Linked DNA regions of Homo sapiens: regions 2 and 3 are each linked to region 1. The links are contacts of gene promoters, found by promoter capture Hi-C in blood cells and fetal thymus (Javierre and others, 2016). All regions are on one chromosome and are shown on one strand. The core of a region is centred on a gene start or on the middle of the fragment in contact, and the rest is flanking DNA. Distances in the headings are between cores, read along the strand shown.

Region 1 (2,590 bases), core at 43-2,542:
CTCCATGCCAGGGGCCTCTGCGAGCTGAAACATGAAAGGTCTTTGGATCAGAGAGGAGCTGGGAGCCTGCTTGCCCTGCAGCTGGAAAGAAACTTGAATTGTTCAAGTTCTCTCACTTTTCCCTGAAGACTGATTCCCCATTTTCCCCTTTTGCTATTATTTTTAAGAGCCTTGCTGCTCTCCAGGCAAATTCTCAGGTTCTCTGCCCGTCTGCAGCATGTATGCATATGCGTGTGTGTGTGCGTGCGTGTGTGCGCGTGCGTGCGTGGGCGTGTGCGCGTGTGTGGGCGTGCGCGTGTGCGTGTGCGCGTGTGTGCGTGTGCGCGTACGCGTGTGTGCGTGTATGTGTGTGTTGGGGGAGGCTGCGGTGCCTATGACTGGTTGCCCCCTTGAACCCCACCAGAAGCCAGCCCAGGCCCCTCTGCGCCCTCTTCTGAGTCTCCAGGGCCGGTTCTCTCCTGGCAACTCCAGAAAGTGCCTCCTCACCTCAAAAGACCAAGAAACAGGGTTTCTGATAAAGTGTCCCACCCAGTCCCGGCTGGGGCAGTTGGTTAGAGAATGAGGGGACATTGGGGGGAAGAGGAGGGAGAATGAGGGGATGGGAAGAGAGGCGCAGAGAAAATGAGAGGTGGAGAGAAAGGGACAGAGTGAAAGAGAAGGAGAAAGGGGAGAAGCCGGGAAGACAATGAGAATGGAAGCGAGAGATGGAAGTGGAAAGAAGAACTGGAAGCCTAGAGACAGAGGGAGAGAGGGAGAGAGGGAGGGGGAGAGAGAGAGAGAGAGAGAGAGAACGGGAATGAGCAGCTGTGATGTGGCCAGATCAGTTCATAGAAAAGAAACACAGTTCAGAGCAGAAGGGAGGAAAGAAAATAAGAAGGAAAGAAACAGAGAATGAGATGCAGAGAGGAGAGGAGGGAGAGAGAGAAGGAAACCGAGGTGGGTAGAAAAATGTGACGAAAGGGAAGGACAGAAAAAAAAATGAGAGAAGTAAGACAGAATAAAGGAGAAAAAGAAGAAGGGAATCATGAGGATGGTGAGAAAAGACAGGAGAGAAAGCCGGGAGAGAGGATAGAGGGGCGTTCTCGCTGCGCTGCGTGTCAGCTCTGGTAAGCCGTCTAGCATGTCATTAGTGGGGACCTGAGGCGCCAGCGGGAAAGTCCCCTCCCCGTGGGCTGGAGGCTGAGGGAGGGCGGGCCCTGGGCTGGGATCCACAGGCAGGTGGCCGCCCCTGGGTGGGGCCGCCCGGCCAAGCCCTAGGGGTATAAGTGGGAGGCCGGGCCTGCTGAGCACCTGTCAGGGGCAGCTCCGGGGTGCAGGTGCCAGGCAGGTGGCTCCGGCCAGCCCAGCCCCAGCATGAGCTCCTTCGACCTGCCGGCGCCCTCCCCACCTCGCTGCAGCCCCCAGTTCCCCAGCATCGGCCAGGAGCCCCCCGAGATGAACCTCTACTATGAGAACTTCTTCCACCCACAGGGCGTGCCCAGCCCTCAGCGGCCCTCCTTCGAGGGGGGCGGCGAGTATGGGGCCACCCCCAACCCCTACCTCTGGTTCAACGGGCCCACCATGACCCCGCCACCCTACCTGCCCGGCCCCAACGCCAGCCCCTTCCTGCCCCAGGCCTATGGAGTGCAGAGGCCGCTGCTGCCCAGCGTGTCGGGGCTTGGGGGGAGCGACCTGGGCTGGCTGCCCATCCCCTCGCAGGAGGAGCTGATGAAGCTGGTGCGGCCACCCTATTCCTACTCGGCTCTCATCGCCATGGCCATCCACGGGGCACCCGACAAGCGCCTCACTCTCAGCCAGATCTACCAGTACGTGGCCGACAACTTCCCCTTCTACAACAAGAGCAAGGCCGGCTGGCAGAACTCCATCCGCCACAACCTGTCGCTCAACGACTGCTTCAAGAAGGTGCCCCGCGACGAGGACGACCCGGGTAAGGAGGCTTTGAGTGTGGGGGGTGTCCCCAAGGAAGACTCACTTCCTTCCTCCCCAAGACCCCATTCTAGAAAGTTCTGACTAGGGCTGTGCCCCCCAAGACTGGGGGATGCTACCAGGCAGGACAGAGGGGAGCTCAGCAGTGAAGGAGAGCATGGGCCTGGGGGAAGATTTGGGTTTCAGCCCTGGCTGTGCTCCTGCCCAGTCAGTGACCTCTGGCAGGTTAGACCTCAGAGCCTCAGTTCCCTCATCGGAAAACCAGGGATAGTGACAGCATCTGCTTTGCAGGCTGCAGTGGAGGTGATGAGATAATGTACACAAGGTTTTAGGTGTTATCAAGCGCTTAATCGCCTGCAGTAATTACGATTCATCTGCATCTCCAGCACCCAGCACATAGAAAGTCTTTGGTGAATGAATGACTGGACCAACCAAAGCCCAAGGGCATCCCAAGACTGCCAGGAAGAGGATCTGACCTGGGTTAAACAGCCACTAATGGCCCATTTTGCTGCCTGCCTTGTTTCTACTTAGGTAACCTCCTTTAACCCGAAGACACCCCTGCAGGGTAGCTCTTATGAAACCCATTCTACAGATTAGGAAAATAACACTCAGAGGTGACACAGAATGAAGTGATAGTGATGGAGCTTGAATTTGAACTCAGTTT
Region 2 (2,590 bases), core at 54-2,553, 350 kb after region 1:
ATTGCCAATCAGCTCTGCCTTCTGGTATTTACACCTTTATGTAATAACCTCCACTTGAAGGTAGATGAGATCTGTGACTTGCTTCTAACCAGTGGAATATGGCGGAGGTGGTGGGACGTTACTCCTGTGATTACATTACATCATGTGGCTCCTTTATGATGGAAGATTCATGCTAGAGATTCTCCTTGCTGACTTGACAAAGTATGTAACCATGATGAAGACTTCCACGTGGCAAGGAGCTGTGGGAAGCCCAGGTGCTGAGACTGGCATCCAGCAAACACCCAGCAAGAAACAGACGTCCTTGGTTCTACACATACAGGAAATGAATTCTGCCAACATCCTGAGTAAGGCTGGAACTAGATTCTCCCCAAGTTGAGCCTGACAAGTAAAATACAGACCAGCCAACACCTTGATTGCAGTCTTGTGAGACCTGGGGAAAAGGACACAGCTGAACCGTGTCCATTCTTCTGACCCACAGAAACTGTCACATCATAAAGGTATGTTAGTTGTTACACAGTTTAGAAAACTATTACAGCTGCTCAAGAAGGTTAGCTAGCTCCAGATTTCAATCCATTCACAGGAAAGCAAGCTTTATTCCTAGAAGAATAATTCATGCTTTGCAAAAAGAGGAAAACGTCCTGCAGTTTTAGAAGGTCTTTTCTTTCTCAACACACCCAAATTTCTTTAAAATCCTCAAGAAGTGCATTTGTTTTCATGGTTGACTCGAAGAAGTGAGTATAATTAACTCACAAAAGGTGGGAGGAAGGGACAAATTAAATTTTGGTATGCATACAGGTAGCTTCTTCCAAGTGATAATGAGCAATGTGAAACAAAGAGATTGGCATTAAATGTAATGAAGGACTAGAGGAGTGTACCTAAACCTGAAACAAATTCCAAGAAGTGGCCTTGACCTAAAATGTTTGCATCCTGCCAGAGACCCTTACTTATAAGTCAGGAGATACCTGATGCCCAGGAGAACTGGTTTTTGTACTCTGTCTTACACAGACTAAGAATTAAGAATGCAGGTGAGAAGTTTAGAAAACTTCCTGATGATCATATGAAAAGACATTAAACTTTACCTGGTAAAACTATGAAATGTTGCCTGTAGATTTCTAAGAAAAATGAGTAGGAAGTTGGAAATATTTCAGAATTAAGAATGTTTTTATATAATTAGAACTCTTTAAGCTATGTAATTCTGAAATCTGTGTGACAGACTTCTGTGTAAACATAAAGAACTAGTTATTTTTACAGATTATCTAGTCTGTGTATTCATTTGATGTTTCTATTACTTTTACCCTCACTACAAAGTTCAATGAAGGTTAAAAAAATATTGTTCTTAAAAAAAGAAGAGATAAACCTGGAGTAGCTATTTCAATGTTAGACAAAATGGATTTTAAAACAAAAATGTTAATACAGATAGAAAGGGACATTTTATAATAATAAAAGTATCAAAATATCAGGAAGATACCACAATTATAAACAAATATGCTCCTAAAAATAGAATCTCAAAATACATAAAACAAAAACTGACAAAGTTGAAGGGATAAATAAATAGGCAGCTCAGCAATATTTAGAAACTTCAATACCTCACTTTCAATAATGGATAGAACAACTAGACATAAGATCAACAAGAAAATAGAATATTTTAACAAAGCTATACACCAACTAGGCCTAATGGATATCTATAGAATAATCCACCCAACAACAGAAGTCTTCCTCCTCCTACTTCTCCTCCTCCTCCCCTTCCCCTTCCCCTTCCCCTTCTTCTTCTTCCTTCTTCTCTTTCTCCTTCTCCTTCTTCTTCTTCTTCAACAGGATCTTACTCTGTTGCCCAGGCTAGAGTGCAGTGGTGTGATCATGGCTCACTGCAGCCTCAACTTCCCAGGCTCAGGTGATACATGGGCCTCAGCTTCCCAAAGTGCTGGGATTATAGGCACAAGCCACATGCCTGGCCCACATATTCTTCTTAAGTACACATCAAACATTCTGTAGAATAGACCATATGCTAGGCCACAAAACAAGCTTCGATAATTTAAAAGGACTGAAATTATACACAATCTGTTCCTTGGCCACAAAGAATAAAATTAGAAAGAACTTTTGGAAACTCACAACTATATAGAAATTAACATACCCATAAGTAACCAATTGGTTGAAGAAGAAATCACAAAATAAATGAGAAAATACTTTGAGATGAATGAAAATTAAGACACAACATATAAAAATTTATGCAATATAGCTAAAGCAATGCTTAGAGGGAAATTTATAGCTCCACATACCTACATTAAAAATGGAGAAAGTTACACTGTTGGTGGGACTGTAAATTAGTTCAACCACTGTGGAAGACAATATGGCGATTCCTCAAGGATCTAGAACCAGAAATACCATTTGACCCAGCAATCCCATTACTGGGTATACACCCAAAGGATTATAAATCATTCTACTATAAAGACACATGCATACATATATTTATTGAGGCACTATTTCCAATGGCAAAGACTTGGAACCAACCCAAATGCCCATCAATGATAGACTGGACAAAGAAAATGTGGCACATATACACCATGGAATACTATGCAGCCATAAAAAAGAA
Region 3 (2,590 bases), core at 28-2,527, 300 kb after region 1:
GATAAATGAAAGAAATATGGATTAAATAATACATATGCCAAATTGCCCTGCAAAATTATGCTGCTTTACCTCCAGCCACAGAGAGAAAAGGGATTTTCTTTTCTTTTTTTTTTGAGATGAAGTCTTGCTCTGTTGCCCAGGGTGGAGTGCAGTGGTGCAATCTCGGCATACTGTAACCTCCGCCTCCAGGTATCAAGCGATTCTCCTACCTCAGCCTCCCAAGTAGCTGGGACTGCAGGCACCACCACCATGCCCAGTTAATTATTAGTATATTTTAATTTTTTAGTAGAGACAGGGTTTCGCCAGGTTAGCCAGGCTGGTCTTGAATTCTTGACCTCAGGTGATCTGCTCACCTTGGCCTCCCAAAGTGCTGGGATTATCAGCCTGAGCCGTTGTGCCCAGCTGAGAAGAGGGATTCTCAGCAGCAGCCTGGACTCAGGCATCCTTGCAGGGCCTCCTGGCTTCTCTTGATTCATTTTGTTTTCCTGGTGCCTCATGCCAGGAAGCTGGAATGAAGCACAACTGGGCAGACCCTTCCTTGGGCAAAAGTATTAGTGTCTGTGGTCATTGTTCTCTGACAGTCAGTTCTGTGGTACATAACGATTGGTTCAGGCCCCTGTGATCTTCTTGTCCATGTGAGACTGGATGAGGAGTCTCCTGGACCAGTGATGGTAACACCTGCACCCTGAGCTGGGGAGCAGGTGGTATCACAGACGAGCTCCCATCCCAGGCTGGCTCTCACAGTCCCTTTCCACAGCTGTGTTACCAGCCCCTGCTCAATCATGTTTCCATGTGATTCTCATGGAAACCTTGTGTGATTGGCAACACCAAGATTTGTCCCACATCCAGATAGAGACTAGGGGCTAGAATACCTCTCCCCTGCCCGTTTCTCCGGGCTTGACATTTCAGCCAGACACCTCTTCCACTTCCTCAAAACTTATCTGTCTCCTCTTTTACTTCCTCAGTTCCTTGTTTGTCTAAAACACCAGCTAACTGATAATTGCATTTATAGTTACTATGTTTTCCTCCTAGATAACAAGCTTCATTGAAGATTTTCTAAAAATATTTGGCTCTAATATAAGGGAAATTGGGATCACCATGAGCAGTGAGTTGGTGGGAGAGAGATTGGGGGTACGTTTATGGAAAATCACGGATCCGTGGGTCTGGAAGTTAAAAGAGGACTGGCCCTTTGAGCAAATAAATGAAGAGTAAGCTGGAGAGCTTGTGTGTATAGCATTTGAGGGCAAGGGCTCTGGAGTTCAACACACTCAGCCTCAAATCACCTACCCATTATTGGTCGTGTAAATGTGGCCAAGTTACTTGACTGCTCTGTGCCTTGGTTTTTCCATCTCTAAAATGGACATAATAACCCATACAGGGTTATTATAAGGATTTTGACAAGAAATGGCAGGTAGCAATAATTACACCTACTGAATTTAAAAAGTGGCTCAGGCACAAGAGGTGAGTGGCCTGTTCAAGGCAGCATGGCCTGGAAGACCTTCAGCAGGGGCCAGTAAGCTTACTAGCCCTCATACCCAGGAAAGCGGTTTATTTCTCCTCCCACATCAGCATCCCTCTCTTCTTCCTATGTCGGCCCCAGAAGGTTCACACCCTCTCCCTCTTAGGCTCCTTCCTCATTCCGAGGCCTGGAGGGTCTTTGCACAGAGAGGAATCTGCTTCCTGCCTAGAGCTTGGAGAACCCCAGGCCTTCCGCATTCATGAGGTCCAAGGCCAGGCAGGAGGCAAGGCCATGGGCCCAAATCTGTGCCATGAGTGTCAACAGAAGATCCCAAAGCTGGAGACCCCAAATAAAAACCCCAAGAGATGTGGGGGCATCAGCTTCCTCAGACTCAACCCAGCACCATTCAGCAGCTTTCAAGACCAAGAAGTCCATACTGTTCTCTTGCTCGCAAGATACTCAGCCTATGAAATCCTCAGCTAATGGAGTCCTCAGAGCAGCATGGAGCCTTGGGGGTGATTTTGAGGAACTGACACTGGGAAACAGCCTAGGGTCTGTGGTGCGCATGGTGGGCAGCAGCCCTTGCCTGTCCACACCACGGACCAGCTAACCATAGACGAGTTAAGAGTGACAGCATGCTACTGCTAGCGGGGGAAGCTGCACGTGCCATGGTTAAGGACCCCAGGGCTGGGTCTGTGCCCCATCATGTTGCGTAACAAGAAAGACAAGGATTGCAGGTGCTTTCCCACAACTAAGGTGGGTGCAGCTGCTGGGAATGGGAGAAACATTTATAGATCTAAGGATGGGCAGGAATTTAGAAAGGTAAGGGTACTGTCTGCCTTGGCTGATACTTTTATTTCCTTCTATCCATAAGTGTAACAAAAAAATTTTTTTAAATGCTATGTAAAGATAGGGAGGTTTGAAATTTTTACCAACAATCCCAATCCTTGAACACAAAGACTATTATCATATTTGTGACTGTTGAATATTTTTTAAAGACATGTTAATACTACAGGGAACTGCATTTCTATAGAATGCACTTTGGAAAGCATTGCCCTACAGTATTTATAAATTTCAGAACACATTTTAGGATCTGCCTTGTGTTGTTTCTGTCATCATTTTACATTTGCT

Evidence for each region. Contacts are between HindIII fragments. The CHiCAGO score rates a contact against its expected background, and 5 or more counts as called.
Region 2: a fragment that was not itself captured here is called in contact with the fragment with the promoter of FOXI1 in region 1 in 1 of 17 cell types (total CD8 T cells); the score reaches 5.7 in total CD8 T cells.
Region 3: a contact is called between a fragment that was not itself captured here and the fragment with the promoter of FOXI1 in region 1, in 9 of 17 cell types (naive CD8 T cells, monocytes, non-activated CD4 T cells and 6 more). The highest score is 8.6, in naive CD8 T cells.

What each region holds. Positions count from the first base shown.
Region 1 is chr5:170,104,605-170,107,194 of GRCh38, forward strand. It overlaps FOXI1 (forkhead box I1), which reads left to right and starts at 1,293. Exons shown (of 2, transcript NM_012188.5): 1 at 1,293-1,927. The coding sequence starts at 1,354. The HindIII fragment of the contact is 5,348 bases long and covers 1-2,590 here.
Region 2 is chr5:170,453,550-170,456,139 of GRCh38, forward strand. It overlaps a transcript of KCNIP1 not described here. Among named protein-coding and RNA genes, the nearest start is that of KCNIP1, 49 kb to the right of the region's middle. The HindIII fragment of the contact is 1,433 bases long and covers 588-2,020 here.
Region 3 is chr5:170,405,100-170,407,689 of GRCh38, forward strand. All of the region lies in intron 1 of KCNIP1-OT1 (KCNIP1 overlapping transcript 1), which reads left to right. It also overlaps a transcript of KCNIP1 not described here. Among named protein-coding and RNA genes, the nearest start is that of KCNIP1-OT1, 17 kb to the left of the region's middle. The HindIII fragment of the contact is 478 bases long and covers 1,039-1,516 here.